Linked DNA regions of Homo sapiens: regions 2 and 3 are each linked to region 1. Evidence: promoter capture Hi-C in 16 types of primary human blood cells and fetal thymus (Javierre and others, 2016). All regions are on one chromosome and are shown on one strand. Each heading gives the region's core, a stretch centred on a gene start or on the middle of the fragment in contact. The rest is flanking DNA. Distances are from core to core; before and after follow the strand shown.

Evidence for each region. Contacts are between HindIII fragments. The CHiCAGO score rates a contact against its expected background, and 5 or more counts as called.
Region 2: a fragment that was not itself captured here is called in contact with the fragment with the promoter of KDM3B in region 1 in 1 of 17 cell types (neutrophils); the score reaches 5.2 in neutrophils.
Region 3: a contact is called between a fragment that was not itself captured here and the fragment with the promoter of KDM3B in region 1, in 1 of 17 cell types (neutrophils). The highest score is 8.9, in neutrophils.

What each region holds. Positions count from the first base shown.
Region 1 is chr5:138,349,488-138,354,594 of GRCh38, forward strand. KDM3B (lysine demethylase 3B) reads left to right here and starts at 3,198. Exons shown (of 24, transcript NM_016604.4): 1 at 3,198-3,500. The coding sequence starts at 3,309. FAM53C (family with sequence similarity 53 member C) reads left to right here. Exons shown (of 5, transcript NM_016605.3): 5 at 1-242. RefSeq lists silencers at 2,898-2,977, 2,998-3,237, 3,318-3,787 and an enhancer at 4,038-4,137. The HindIII fragment of the contact is 3,421 bases long and covers 1,252-4,672 here.
Region 2 is chr5:138,008,332-138,013,438 of GRCh38, forward strand. It overlaps FAM13B (family with sequence similarity 13 member B), which reads right to left. Exons shown (of 24, transcript NM_001385994.1): 5 at 3,437-3,614; 6 at 2,677-2,818. Among named protein-coding and RNA genes, the nearest start is that of FAM13B-AS1, 22 kb to the right of the region's middle. The HindIII fragment of the contact is 8,248 bases long and covers 1-5,107 here.
Region 3 is chr5:138,039,560-138,044,666 of GRCh38, forward strand. It overlaps a transcript of FAM13B not described here. Among named protein-coding and RNA genes, the nearest start is that of FAM13B, 9.0 kb to the left of the region's middle. The HindIII fragment of the contact is 5,363 bases long and covers 1-4,689 here.

The DNA.
Region 1 (5,107 bases), core at 1,948-4,447:
GCTCTCCTCCTGTGCCCAGTGACTGCCCAGTGGCAGCTCAGCTGCCCTTCACTCCCACCTGCTGCCAAAGTCCCTGTGCTAATGGGATTACAAATACAAAAAGTGGAAAAAAATTTTCGTAAACTTTGTTTTATATTAAAAGAAAAATCCATAAGTCTGTGTGTGTTAAACATGAGGTTCTGCCTCTGTGGCTGTGTTTGAAAAAATAAAGTTTTATTAGAATAATCCATTTTCCCAAGCAACCTTGTGTACTACAGTGTCTTCTTCCCTTCCCCACAAAGACAAGGAAGAAGCAGGGTAGAAGGCCACCTAACTGTTCCAGCCCCTTCATCTAAGATGTGGGTCAACCTTTCAAAAAGGGGCAGTATTTGGACCCTAGGCCCTTTGCCGGCCATGGCAGGATGTTATACTGTGGCCCAGGCTTCTGCTAAGGCCTTGGTTATTTTTGGCAGTCTGGTTTGGTCTCTCTTTCCCTGGCAGTTATACTTGTCTCCTCCTGCCTGCTGTCACTCTCACTTCCAGCAAGTTGAAGTCAAGTATGAATGCATTCCAGCTCCCTGAGAAATGGTTTATGGTACAGTCAGGAACTTGTCTAGATTGGTTTGTAGGCTTTGGGAAGTAGGGAGAAGGCAGGGTGGGAGACAGCCAGGGATCTTTCTTAAGTTTTCACATGTTACATCCTGGAGAGATAGAGGTTTAGTCATCAGAATTCAGATTCCATAGACCTAGGCAATTTTTCCATCCTAAAAATACTGCTTTTGGAAAATAATCCTAGCTGCAAAGCTTCTCTTTTGTTGTAGAAGACAGTATTTTCCCTAATGTTTCCTTTGGGAGTGTTGGTTTGCCAAAAGAAGCTATGTGGCTCACTCTTTAGACCTTTCTGTTCCACCCTTTCTTCTCTCTATGTTGACATTCTTCCAATGTGTGTGGGTGAAGTGTAGTTGCTTAGAGATCCAGGCAGGAGCCTCTGTCTCTAAGGCTTAGCCTTTCTTTACCAGTTGTGGTGCTAATTTGCCAGGCAGCAAGAAGAGTCAAGTTGCTTAGCTTATGTCCTGGTTTCCTGCTTCAAATTGGTGGCACTCATCATTGAATACCAATGAAGTGTGTGCAGGACAGGACTGACTTGACTACCTGGAGCAGGAATCTTTGCAGGGGTGCACATACACCCTAGAAAAAGTGAGGGTTGTCACCTGCCCTGGAAACAAAGGAAGGGCTTTGGGGAAGTGGTGGGCAGTGGCATGTGGTTAAAGAAGCTTAGAATTACAGGGTTTTTTTTCTTTAAAACTGATGTTTCATTTCACCTACTGCTTGAGCAGGGGTAAAGTTTGAACATCTAAAATGACTTTGTTTCCCCCTTTTTTTCTTTTGAGTTTATTTTTGTTGGATTTTTCTGCTATTTTCTGTGAGGCCAAGTGTGATTTTATTTTTCATTCCTGAAGTCTTGTTAATATAGGAAAGAACGTAAACTCCATGAGGGCAAGAGTTTTGTTTTATTCAATATTGTGTCCCCAACACTTTGGGAAGTTCCTGGCACATGAAAAGTGCTGGTCACATTTGTTGAATGCATTTCCCTTTTGCCTTTCCCATCCGTGAACTTAGGTACATTTCTGTCTCTCTGCTGTGAGAAACTAGCCTTGGACATTGGGGCAGTAGTTAAATCTCTGTATGGGAGAAAATCCCAGCAGATAATTTTGATAGAAAAATTGCAAGGCAGATAGATCTTGTATGGATTCACCCTTGTTCCCCTCCTACCAACTACAGCTTATGGGCCATGTGCTTTAAGAGGTGGCTCTCAGCCCAGAAAAACATTCTGAGTCAGGCCTCAGGTTGGCTGTGGGAGATGGAAGTTAAAAAGAAGTGGAGGGAGGAATGTTTCCTTGGTGCTCCACAGGGTTGGTTCTAGAATGATTTTCCTATATGTTTTATACTTTAGTAAAAGTATAAAGTCAATAGTTGGTTACCCCTCTCCCCAAGCCTTTGTTACAAGAAAAGTAGGTCAAGGGTGTAGACAAGGTTATGGACAGGAGATAGCTGGGGTAGGCACAGAAGCCTTGGAGAAAGAACCAGCTACCACTATTTCCTGTCTGTAGGGAAAATCAAAAAGTCACTTTTAGAACAACAGTCATGGGTTATTACTATACCCTTTATCTTTTGTATCCATTTTGTGTATACTCAGTCTCTGCATCCATGAGACCATGGAATGTGCTAGTCCCTGATATTGCCAGCTTTAAATGATTGAGGCAATTTCCTGTTGCTTATTGTGGGTAACAATCTAGCCAAAAATCTCAGCATCTCACTTTCTCTGCAGGCTCCTTTTCTAATCAGGAGCTATCAGTCTCCCACACCTGTATTAAATGCATTCAGATAAGAGTTACAGAATTTTCTTTGCCCCCAGCCCCACTAATTCCATGGTAAGATGGAGTGCTACTAAGAGAACCCCTTTACTGTTGGTCTATTTCCAGTTCCCCTAAGAGTTGAATGGAGAAACACGTAGACTTAATAACATTGGCAGACTAGGAAGGGGAAGAAGTTAGGTCGGTTTTAGGAAAAACACCAAGATGTTGGGGGGCACGTTGGCCTTCAGTCAGTGGAAAGAGTGGCATTATACATCCAATGGAAGTAATACATTGGCCAATTGGAAAGGAACCTAAGAAGTGCTGGCAGTATAGAATGGGATGGTGCTGTTATGGGCCATTGAGAAGGAAGACATTGTGTCTCATGGACCAATGGGGAGAACATTTCCTACAAGACAGCAGGTAGGAGCTCATATTTTCAGGATAGGAAATCAATGGGGGTATTGGAGACACTAAATAGCTCAAAACATCCACTCTCTAGGTACCTTGCCCCTCACCCCCTTACCCCGTAAATGTCTTTGGTATCCGAGGAGAGCAAGCTAAAGCCCTCTCATATATACGACTCCCTGAAGGAAGATTGAGACCAGGGATGATGCCATGGGGAAGCTGAAGGACCCGCCCACTTCCCTACCCCGGCCGGACCTGCAATTCCCCTCCAGACCGCAGGGGGCACTGCAGGCCCCGGGGAGATTGGGGCGGAGCGCTGCGAGGGGCCAGGAGCTGTCGCCCCGCTCCAGAGCGCGGGGGGCGCTGTGCGGGGCCCAGGCTGCGGCTCCGCTCCCGGCCACGGGGGGCGCTGCGCTGCGCCGGTGGTTGGTGGTGGCTGTTGGGGGGGGTGGGGGGGAACGGCGGCCGCGGGTGGTGCGGAGGGAGGCCTTGCGGGCGGATCGGGCGCTTGGCGGCGGAGGTGGTGGGAGGCGGCGGGCGGGAGCGCGGGTCAGGCCGGCCCCGGCGATGGCGGACGCGGCGGCCTCCCCGGTGGGCAAGCGGCTGCTGCTGCTGTTCGCGGACACTGCGGCCTCAGCCTCGGCCTCGGCTCCCGCGGCGGCAGCGGCGAGCGGAGATCCGGGGCCTGCGCTGCGCACTCGAGCCTGGCGGGCCGGCACGGTGCGGGCCATGAGCGGGGCGGTGCCCCAGGACCTAGCGGTGAGTGGCGGCCGAGTCGGGCACTCGAGGCCGGGGCTGCGGGGCCTGCGGGCGGCCTCCCCGGGGGCCTTTGTGAGGGGGCGGTGGGATGGGGGTGACCCATTTCCGTGCCCCCGGGTCTCCTTAGCGCCCCCCGCCGGCACCTCCGCACCCCGAGCGCTTGCCGGCATGGCTTCCGCGTCGGGGTGTGCGCCCCGGTTTCCCCCGGGGGGCGGCCAGGGCGTCCGGAGCTGCTGCTTGCAGCCAGCAGGCCCCGCCTCCTGGGCGACCCTTTTCTCGGCGTTCCCCCCAACACGCCTTCGGAGCAGGCTCTCGAATCTTGAGCTCCCGGGAGCCTCAGAGTTCGGCCAGTGTTGCCGCTGCCCTCTCGAAGACGCGGACCTGTGGTCCCCAGCCTCTCCCAGGAGACCTGCGCCCTGTTCCTTTTCTCCCAGAGCCCCAAGTGGGGCGGGAATGTGGGCAGTTATGGGAGGCACGGAGGCTGCAGTTGGAGCTGGTCGGGGCTTTTTTATCTGGCAGTTACTTCCTCATCTGAGCTGGGCTCGGCCTGGCGGTCTCCAGAAAGGCCAGCTCTCGGCACTGTCTCGAGCTCTCCTCTCCTTTCCTTAACGCTTCTGGGTGACAGGAGCTGCAGTTGTGGCTGTTTTTGTTAAGTTTGAGATCTTTCTTAGTGGCCGAACGGGGCTGCTGGGTAGTGCTTTTTGCTCCCAGCTCAGCTACTCCCCCAACCTTGGGAGAGGTTTTGTTTTGAAACTTTGTGTTTGGGCTTGGCCCTTTTTGAATGCCTTGGTGTGTTTTGTGATTAAAGTTGTTCAGTCATACAACTTAACTAGCATTCGGGATCATGATGTGTTATTCTCGTTAATGTGGCGGTAAAATATAGTGTTTGAGTTTTGGCAAGCCACTTTATTTCCTCATTTTGATAGGGGCCCTAGCTTCTCTGGTGAGATAAGGCTATGAAAAATGGTGTGTGTGCGTGTTGGGGCAGGGGGTGGTCTTTTGGAATGTAATAGATCAGCAAGCAGAAAGTAAATTTTCTTGATGAACTTGCTTTTGCAGATATAAACGGGAACGCAGTTTGTGAGATTTGGAAGTAATGTTGTAGGCTTCCGATGTTCATTTTTCTTCCTATTGATCAACGGTGTTAGACTGTCCTTTTTCACTAATATACAAGCTTTATGGATTTTTTTTGTGGATGGCTTAGGCTTTGCTTCTGCTACTTGGGTTCATTTGCTTTGATTTTTCTTCATGCTGTATAAGAAACGTTACTAGGACATTTATAAGGCCTCAGTGGGGCAAATTTGCAAAAAGATACTAAAAATTTAAGGGGATGGAATGATGATTAAGACTGGGATTTGGATCTCTATTCCTCTGCGCTTTCTTTAAAAGATGGCTGGGATGGGAAAAGAAGTGTCCATTTCAGATTCATTCTACCACCTTGGAGGCAAAACATACTTAAGATCCACTATTATATGCATACTTTGACCGAAGGCCTACTTTGCCCTAGCTATTCATTGGGATTTTTTTCTGGTTCTTGCAGTGGTCGTCTCGTTTCCTCCATCAGATGAATTGCTAATGAGCTCTGCACCTGAAATGGCTCCCCATTC
Region 2 (5,107 bases), core at 1,003-3,502, 340 kb before region 1:
CTTGAGAGACTGAGGTAGGAGAATCACTTGGGCCCAGGAGGTCGGGGCTGCAGAGAGACGCGATTGTGACACTGCACTCCAACTTGGGTGACAGAGTAAGATTTGGTTTCGAAATTAAATAAAGTATAATACAGTAGTTAAAAGCTAGGCCTCAGAGGCAGAAATACCTATATTCACACATCCCTACTTGTCCCTAACTTTCTCTGGCAACTTACTTAACTTGTCCAAGTCTTAAGTATAAAATGGAGATGCTATACTAACTACCTCACAGAGCTGGTTGAAAGGATTAATATATGTAACCTCTTCAGCAATGTCTATACATAATAAGCAATAATGCCTATCATTATAACTGAAATTGTTGTCATTTCTTTAATAGCATAGATCCTAGCTTCTACATGTAACATCACTTTTTATATAAATGAAGAGAGTATCCACCATCCAAACTACCTAAAGCAGGAGGTCTCAACCACAGGTCTATCAAGCTCACTAGTCAGATGGGTCACTAAAAAGTCATTATTAACAATAGTTAGGCCAGGCGCGGTGGCCCATGCCTTTAATCCCAGAACTTTGGGAGGCCAAGGTGGGTGGATCACTTGAGGGCAGAAGATCGAGACCAGCCTGGCCAACATGGCAAAATCCAACCTATACTAAAAATACAAAAATTAGCCGGATGTGGTGGCATGTGCCCGTAATCCCAGCTACTTGGAAGGCTGAAACAGAATTGCCTGAACCCAGGAGGCAGAGGTTGCAGTGAGCCAAGATCGCACCACTGCACTCCAGCCTGGGAAACACAGCAAGACTTTGTCTCAAAAACAAAAACAAAAATAAAAACAAAACAGTTAGTGAACCATTAAGTTCACATGTAAAGTACATGCAGCAGATTCTGTATAATTCGTTGTGTTTATAAATGTCTTTCCTAGTCTATCCCACATCATGTATAATGCTAATGAAAAGGACTGAAAAATCACTGGCCTAAGTGATTAACTGAGAGGTAAGATTTCAACACAAAGGTGAAAATCTCAAATGATAGATCAGGTTTTAAAGTAGATCTAATGGGAAATTATCCTCTTTCCCCATCTACGTATTTTATTAACTAGTGAAAGTTGAGAGGATGTACTTAATATCCATCTGGTAATCTAAGCAAGGAAACACTGGCCAAAAAAAAAAAAAGTTTTCAGAAGTATAAAAGGGGACCAGGTGCAGTGGCTCATGCTTGTAACCCCAGCACTTTGGGAGGTAGAGGTGGGTGGATCACCCGAGGCCTGGAGTTCGAGACGAGTCTGGCCAACATGGCGAAAGCCTGTCTCTACTAAAAATACAAAAATTAGCCAGGCATGGTGGCGAGCGCCTGTCATCCCAGCTACTCGAGAGGCTGGGGCAGGAGAATTGCTTGAACCTGGGAGACAGGGGTTGCAGTGAGCCAAGATCACACCATTGCACTCCAGCTTGGGCGACAGAGCGAGACTGTCTCAAAAAAAAAAAAAAAAAAAGGGTTGGGGCAGGGGTGGGAATTATTGTGGTTGATTAATAAAAGCCTGGGCACAACAGCAAAATATCAAAAAAAATTTTTAAAGAAGGCTTTTAAAACTGAGAATAAAAACTTATTCAGTTCACACCTTTTTGGTACAGAGATACTATTATTTCAACATTTTTGTTTGTTTGTTTTTAAGATGGAGTCTTGCTCTGTCGGTCAGGCTGAAGTGCAGTGCTACGATCTTGGCTCACTGCAACCTCCGCCTCCCAGGTTCAAGCAATTCTCCTGCCTCAGCCTCTCCAGTAGCTGGGATTACAGGCACATGCCCCTATGCCTGGCTAATTTTTATATTTTTAGTACAGACAGTGTTTCACCATGTTGGCCGGGCTGGTCTCAAACCCCTGACCTCAGCTGATCCACCCACCTCAGCCTCCCACAGTGCTGGGATTACAGGCATGAGCCACCACGCCTGGCCTATTTTAACATGTTATATCACACTTTTTAAAATCATTTTGTGGGGCCAGGTGTGGTGGCTAACACCTGTAATACCAACACTTTGGAAGGCCAAGGCAGGAGGACTGCTTGAGGCCAAGAGTTCAAGACCAACCTGGGCGACATAAGAAGACCCTGTCTCTATAAATAATAAAACAATTTTTTAAAAGATTATAATGTAACCTCAGAAAGAGATTTTAATATTCTAGAGTCACCAGAATTTAAAAATTACCTGCCACTTAAACTATTAATATCCAGATGCTTCCCATTAGTGACAATTATACTATTGTGTTGATTTGCTCTATTATTGAAGAAAAACTTCAAATTTTTAAAAATGTGTACCGAATCTTTCCCTCTACTTTAAATTTCTCACCCCTTGCCTATATTCCTCTATGCTAGCAGTTTCTCTGCAAAAAACCAAAACACTGCATTATCCTTACAAAATAAACAATAGGAAAAGAAACAAAAAATCTCTACCATATACTCTAATTTTAATGCCTTTTCCTTATTAATCAAATTATGGAGGACAGGATGTTGTTCAGGAAAAAAATCATGAATGTGCCACCTACTGATTACATATAATAACCAAGATAATTACTTCCAGGTCAGATTTAAATTCCACTTATGTCTGTGGCAAGTCTTTAAGAGCATATTATTCTTAAAAAAAAAAAAAAAAAAAAAAATTATCCCTCCAAATAGAATATTCTCACCTGTTCAGTAATTGAACTCAAATCATTAGATGAAAAATCTTCCTCTTCATTCTCAAAAAACTCATAGTAGTTTTCCAGAAGTCCAGCCATTATCCTGCTCACTATTTCTTGCTCTTTCATGTCTTCCACATCTGTGTAAATGCTAAGAATAGAAGTCCAAATTGAATTGAGAGTTCTTAAATCAATCACAGGTAAAGGTAGAAGACAACCAATGAGATACTTTATGAACATGGGCAATTTATGTTACCATTCTGTGCTTCCATTCTCCCATCTGTAAAACCTACCTAATTTGTACCCTGTTCACAAAAATGCTGTAAGAATTAATCATATCTACTATAAAAAATAATTGTTCATCAAGCAACCTGCGATCCTTGGGAGACAATATAATGATTCCATTTCACATATCTAATTTTTCTTTTTTTTTTTTATGAGATGGAGTCTCGCTCTGTCACCCAGGCTGGAGTGCATTGGCGCGATCTCGGCTCACTGCAAGCTCCGCCTCCCCGGGTTCACGCCATTCTCCTGTCTCAGCCTCCCGAGCAGCTGGGACTACAGGCACCCGCCACCATGCCCAGCTAGTTTTTTTATTTTTAGTAGAGACGGGGTTTCACCGTGTTAGCCAGGATGGTCTCAATCTCCTGACCTTGTGATCCGCCCGCATCAGCCTCCCAAAGTGCTGGGATTACAGGCATGAGCCACCGTGCCCGGCCTCACATATCTAATTTTTAAAAATTAAACAAAAATTTTTTAAACAACTTACTGGAAGACATCTGGACCAAAGACAGCAGCCAAAGAATTTGCGGACCAAATTTCTTCATGATGTGATGCTACATTGGCTAAAAATCTACACAGAAACTTTAACAAACTATAATTAACAGGTGGAAGCTGTTGCAAGAGGAACCTCAACTTTCTTCCAAATTCATCTTCATTATTATAATCTATAAAACAATAATAACAGGTTTTTTTCAATAAAGGAAAAAGCAAAGCTCTGATATTTTGCCAGGTTCACATTACTCCACCCACATCACCTTTTTAATACAACAATTCAAAACCTCTTCACTTCCTCTACTGGGGCCAAATGCCTTAGGGCTTTGTATTTCACTTATGAAATGGAGAAGAGGTGGAGAAGAGGAGCTGGAAAAAAGGAACTCAATCCCTTAATTGCTGGAGGATGTTTTCCTCATCTATTACTCATTGGCCCCAATTCTCTTTTTTTTTTTTTTTTTTTTTTAATTCTCATCCTACTGTCTCCAGCATGACTGTACCTGTGTTTCCACACTAGTGCCAACTATAAGAAGTCAAAATGCACTGGCCATGCCAGACAATACAAACCACTAGTGAGCAAAGCAGAGATGCAATTTGAGGGGCTAATAGTATCAGTGATACCTTTCAGCTTAGATGAAAGTAAAAAGAAGGAAAGAAAAAGGTAACAGTGTGATTTTCTTCTCCTGGCGTCCTAAAATAAACAATTAACTTCAGCAATATCAGTATAACTAAATTAAAAGGTCTTTCATTTCTCGTCTGTTTTTCTCCTCTAAATTCATGTTGGTTTCTGCTTATCAAGTAAACTTTATCACACAAGTTAGGCCTTGTATTTATCGTGTCAATGAGTTTTCATTAACAGAAACTAGACCCGTATTCATTCCACTAATTGGTGAGGATCCCATTTGGGAGAAATAAGTGCTCAGAGGTCCTCTCGAAATGAAGTGATTTATTGTGCTACATGAGTAAAAATCAATTAAATTATGTTTCATTTTGTATTTTTCCGCAGGTTCTTAAAATTATTTTACTGAAAAACTCCTGGTAAAAGGTTACGGTCATGATATTAACTATCTCTGCAAAATAACACTAGTCTAAAAAGTTTATCAGGAAATAGGACTCCAGTACTATGTTGATTCAAAAAAAAAAAAATTTGGCCTTGTATGGTGGCTCATGCCTGTAATCCCAGCACTTTGAGAGGCTGAGACAGGCGCATCACCTGAGCTCAGGAGTTCGAGTCCAGCCTGGGCAACATCACGAAACCCCGTTCTACCAAAAATACAAAAATTAGCTGAGTGTACTGGCACACACATGTGCTCCCAGCTACTCAGGAGGCTGAGGTGAGAGGATGGCTTGAGCCTGGGAGGCAGTGGTTGCAGTAAGCCGAGATCGTGCCACTGCACTTCAGCCTGGGTGACAGAGTGAGACCCTGTCTCAAAAAGAAAAAAAAAAAGGCTGGGCGCGGTGGCTCACGCCTGTAATCCCAGCACTTTGGGAGGCCGAGACAGGTGGATCATAAGGTCAGGAGATCGAGACCATCCTGGCTAACACAGTGAAATCCCATCTCTACTAAAAATACAAAAAATTAGCTGGGTGTGTTGGCGGGTGCCTGTAGTCCCAGCTACTCAGGAGACTGAGGCAGGAGAATGGCGTGAACCCAGGAGGCAGAGCT
Region 3 (5,107 bases), core at 758-3,257, 310 kb before region 1:
CAAGTATCTGGGACTACAGGCATGTGCCACCATGCCCAGCTTTTTTTTTTTTTTTTCTTAGAGACGTATTATCACTACATTGCCCAGGGTGGCCTCTAACTCCTGGGCTCAAGAGATCCTCCCACCTCGGCCTCCCAAAGTGCTGGGATTACAGGCATGAGCCACCATGCCTAGCCTTCAGGCACCTTCCATTCAGACCACATTTTCTGTGGCAAACTGACAACGCCAATGTTTGCAGTTTGCAGTTTAACTACAGCTGTATTTTTTGCCAAACATTTACACCTAACTACTCTTTTCCACTAGAGTATATAACAATTTACAGAAGCATTTAATGTTTTCTGAATCCCCAAGCTCATCAGCAGAGAAGCTCCAAAACATGAAGGTGTACATCCCTATTTTAGGCCTTCATAGAAAGAAACCAACCTGGCCGGGCACGGTGGTTCAAGCCTGTAATCCCAGCACTTTGGGAGGCCGAGGAAGGCGGATCACGAGGTCAGGAGTTCAAGACCAGCCTGACCAACATAGTGAAACCCCATCTCTACTAAAAATACAAAGTTAGCTAGGCGTAGTGGCGCATGCCTGTAATCCCAGCTACTGGGGAGGCTGAGGCAGGAGAATCATTTGAACCCAGGAGGCAGAGGTTGCAGTGAGCCGAGATTGCACCACTGCACTTCAGCCTGGCGACAGAGCAAGACTCTGTCTCAAAAAAAAAAAAAAAAAAAAAAAAAGGCCGGGCACGGTGGCTCAAGCCTGTAATCCCAGCACTTTGGGAGGCCGAGGCGGGCCGATCACAAGGTCAGGAATTCCAGACCAGCCTGGCCAATATGGTGAAACGCTGTCTCTACTAAAAATATTAAAAAAAATTAGCTCGGCATGGTGGTGCATGCCTGTGATCCCAGCTACTCAGGAGGCTGAGGCAGGAGAATTGCTTGAATCTGGGAGGCGGAGATTACCGTGAGCCGAGATCGCGCCACTGCACTCCAGCCTGGGCGACGTAGACACCGTCTCAAAAACAAAACAAACAAAAAAGAAGGAGATAATAGAATGGAGGGAAGACAATATTCAAAGAAATAGTGGCTGAACATTTTCCAGAATTGAAGGTAAATATCCTAAATTCTGGAAGACCAAAACTTGCCATGCTGAAAAGTATAAAATGCACACATAAAATTTAGTACCCAGAGAGAAAGGGGATCTTAAAATTAGGCAGCAAGAAAAGACATTAGGCCGGGCACAGTGGCTCACGCCTGTAATCCCAGCACTCTGGGAGGCCAACATGAGCAGATTGCCTGAGGTCAGGAGTTCGAGACCAGCCTGACCAACATGGCAAAACCCTGCCTCTACTAAAATTACAAAAATTAGCTGGGTGTGGTGGCACACGCCTGTAATCCCAGCTACTCGAGAGGCTAAGGCAGGAGAATCACTTGAACCTGGGAGGCAGAGGTTGCAGTGAGCTGAGATTGCGCCACTGCACTCCAGCCTAGGCAACAGAGCAAGACTCCATCTCAAAAAAAAAAAAAAAAAAGAAAAGAAAAGACACTAATCTTCAAAGAAAAGATAATTTGGCTGACAGCTGACCTTTCAATAGTAACAATAGAAGCCAAATGATACTGCAGCGTATCTTCAAAATGTTAAGAGAAAATTACCATCTTCCAGAAGGAAGATCCAAAATGCGAGAAGTAATGGTGAACAAAGAAAATTGTTTGCATGTTTGCTGTAAATCTAAACACTATCCAAAATAATGGCAACAATATCTAAATTCTACTATTGTTCAATAATTTAACATATACTATTGTGAGAGGGTAAATTAAAGTATTAGAAGGCTTTGTATTGTTTAAGAGGAGGCTAAATAAGTCTATAATTTGTTGAGTTAAATATACATGTTAAAATTTCTACATAATCAGTACAAGAAATTAAACAGTATATATAACTTCCAGTTTATTAGGGGGATAAAATAAAATAGGAAGATCTTAATTTTAAAAATGGATAAAAAATGTTTAAGGAGGACAAATAGTAAAACATTAGATAGCAGAAATAAATTCAAATATGAGTAATTACAATCAGTGTAAATATATTAATTCCTAATTAAAAGTCAAAGAGCTGGGCATGGTGGTTCACACCCATAATCCCAGCACTTTGGGAGGCCAAGGCAGGAGGATTGCTTAAGGCCAGGAGTTTGAAACCAGCCTGGGCAACATAGCAAGACCCCATCTCAAAAAAAAAAATTGGGGGTGGGGGGTGGTACTGAGACAGGAGAATCACCTGAACCTGGTAATTCAAGCCTGCAGTAAGCACCACCGCACTCCAGCCTGGGTGGCAGAGCAAGACCCTGTCTCAAAAAAAAAAAAAATATTAATAGCCAGGCACAGTGGTTTGCACCTGTAATCCCAGCTAGTCAGGAGGCTGAGGCAGGAGGATTTTTTGAGCCCGGAAGTTCAAGGTTACAGTGAACTATGACTGCACCACTGCACTCCAGCCTGCACAACAGGGGAAGACCCTGAAGTTCATAGCTGCATTTTTTATATTGGTGAAAAAAATGGAAACTCAAGCTCAGGTAGATAGCAATGATAGAATGATGAATGATTAATACAGTATGGTATCTTCATACCATGTAAACAATGAAAATGAACAAACTACAGCTACAAACAACAATGTGATGAATCACAAAAATAAATGAAAGAAGCCAGACACAAACAAATACTGTATGAATCCGTTAAAAACAGTTCAAAAGCAGGGAAAACTAAACTATCATTTTAGAAGTCAGAATTGTGGTTAAGGAGGGAAGTCTTTTTGAGGAAGGAAGAAATCAATAATAAGGAGGGGTCATGAGAAGATATTCCATTTCTTAACCTAGGGGGAAGTTGCACATATATGTTCACCTAGGGACAATTCAGTGAGCTGTACTCATGATCTGTATACTTCTCCATATGTATTTTATATTTCAAAAAGTTTAAAAATAAAAACTAGCTCCTTAAGTTTTTAAGTTTTTTCTTTAATTGAAATTAAATATAACAGTGTTTCCCAAAAAAAGCAAAACTAAATCATCATGTTTAGGGATACAAATTAGGGGAAAAACTTAAAAGAAAAAAAAAAAAAGCCAGGAAGTGACTATCATAGACATCATGATACTGGTTCTGGTTCTTCTGGGAACGAGGGGCAAGAGTTCGTGGAGACACAAAAATAAGAATGCTCTTATTCTTGATATGAGCTGTGGTGGTTACATGGGTGTTTGCTTTGTATTAAATTGACCAGGGGCCAGGCGCGGTGGGTCATGCCTATAATCCCAGCACTTTGGGAGGCTGAGGAGGGTGGACCACCTGAAGCCAGGAGTTCAAGACCAGCCTGGCTAACATGGTGAAACCCTGTTTCTACTAAAAATACAAAAAGTAGCCGGGTGTGGTGGCGCATGCCTGTAGTCCCAGCTACTCGGGAGGCTGAGGCAGAAGAATCACTCGAACCCAGGAAGTGGAGGTTACAGTGAGCTGAGATCGTGCCACTTCATCCCAGCCTGGGCAACAGAGCCAGACTCCATCTCAAATAAAAAAGAACAACAACAAAAGAAGAAATTGACCAGGCCAGCAAGAATCACTTGAGGCCAGGAATTGGAGACCAGCCTGAGCACCATAGTGAGACCCTGTCTCTATAAAAAATAAAATTAAAAATTAGCCAGGCATGGTAACACACTTGTAGTCCCAGCTACTCAGGAGGCTGAGGTGGGAGGATTGCTTGAGGCCAGGTCAAAGCTGCAGTGATCCATGATTGTGCCACTGCACTCCACCCTGGATGACAGAGAGAGACCCTGTCTCAAAAAATAAATAATAAATAAGAATAAATTATTGACCTGTGTTTACCTTGTTCGGGCATTATTCTTTTTTTTCTTTCTTTCTTTTTTTTTTTTTTTTGAGACAGAGTCTTGCTCTGTCGCCAGGCCGAAGTGCAGTGGTGCGATCTCGGCTCACTGCAACCTCCACCTCTCAGGTTCAAGCAATTCCCCTGCCTCAGCCTCCCAAGTAGCTGGGACTACAGGCGCACGCCACCACGCCCGGCTGATTTTTTGTATTTTAGTAGAGACAGGGTTTCACCATGTTGGTCAGACTGGTCTCGAACTCCTGACCTCATGATCCGCCTGCCTCGGCCTCCCAAAGTGCTGAAATTATAGGCGTCAGCCACCGCACCCGGCCTCTTTTTTTTCTTTTTTTAACAGAAATGGGATCTCTCTCTGTTGCCCAGGCTGGTCTCAAACTCCTGGGCTCAAGCAATCCTTTTGCCTCACCTTCCCAAAGTGCTGGGATTACCAGGTATGAGCCACCATACCCAGCCAGGACATTTTCTATATGAATATTGCACAATGAAAAGGGGGGTATTTTGGTATTTTTATTAGAGAAAGTGTCTCACTCCATCTCCCAGGCTGGAGTACAGTGGCTCCATTATAGCTCATGGTAGCCCAGAACTCCTGGGCTCAAGTGATCCTCCCACCTCAACCTCCTATGTAGCTGGAACTATAGGCACATGCTGTCACACCTAGCTTTTTTTATGTATTTTTTATTTTTTTGGTAGAGACAAAGTCTTGCTATGTTGCCCAGGCTGGTCTTGAACTCCTGGCCTCAAGCGATCCTCCCACTTCAGCCTCCCAAAGTGCTAGGATTACAAGCATGAGCCACTGCACCAGCCTAAAAAAGATATTTTAAAGTAAGCTTTTAAAAAAAGATAATAGGCCGGGCGCTGTGGCTCATGCCTCTATTCCCAGCACTTTGGGAGGCCAAGGTGAGCGGATCACCTGAGGTCAGGAGTTCGAGACCAGCCTGACCAATGTGGTGAAACCCAGTCTCTAATAAAAATACAAAAATTAGCCAGGCATGGTGGCACACGCCTGTAATTCCAGCTACTCAGGAGGCTGAGGCAGGAGAATCACTTGAACCCAGGGGGCGGAGGTTGCAGTGACCCAAGATCACACCATTGCACTCCAGCCTGGGCGACAGAGCAAGACTCCATCTCGAAAAAAAAAAAAAAAACGGATAATATAAGACAATGTCTTCGTGATTCTTAAATAAAACACAACCTTTTCACGGTACAGTAAGGATTGATAAATTCAGCTATTTTACATTTGACA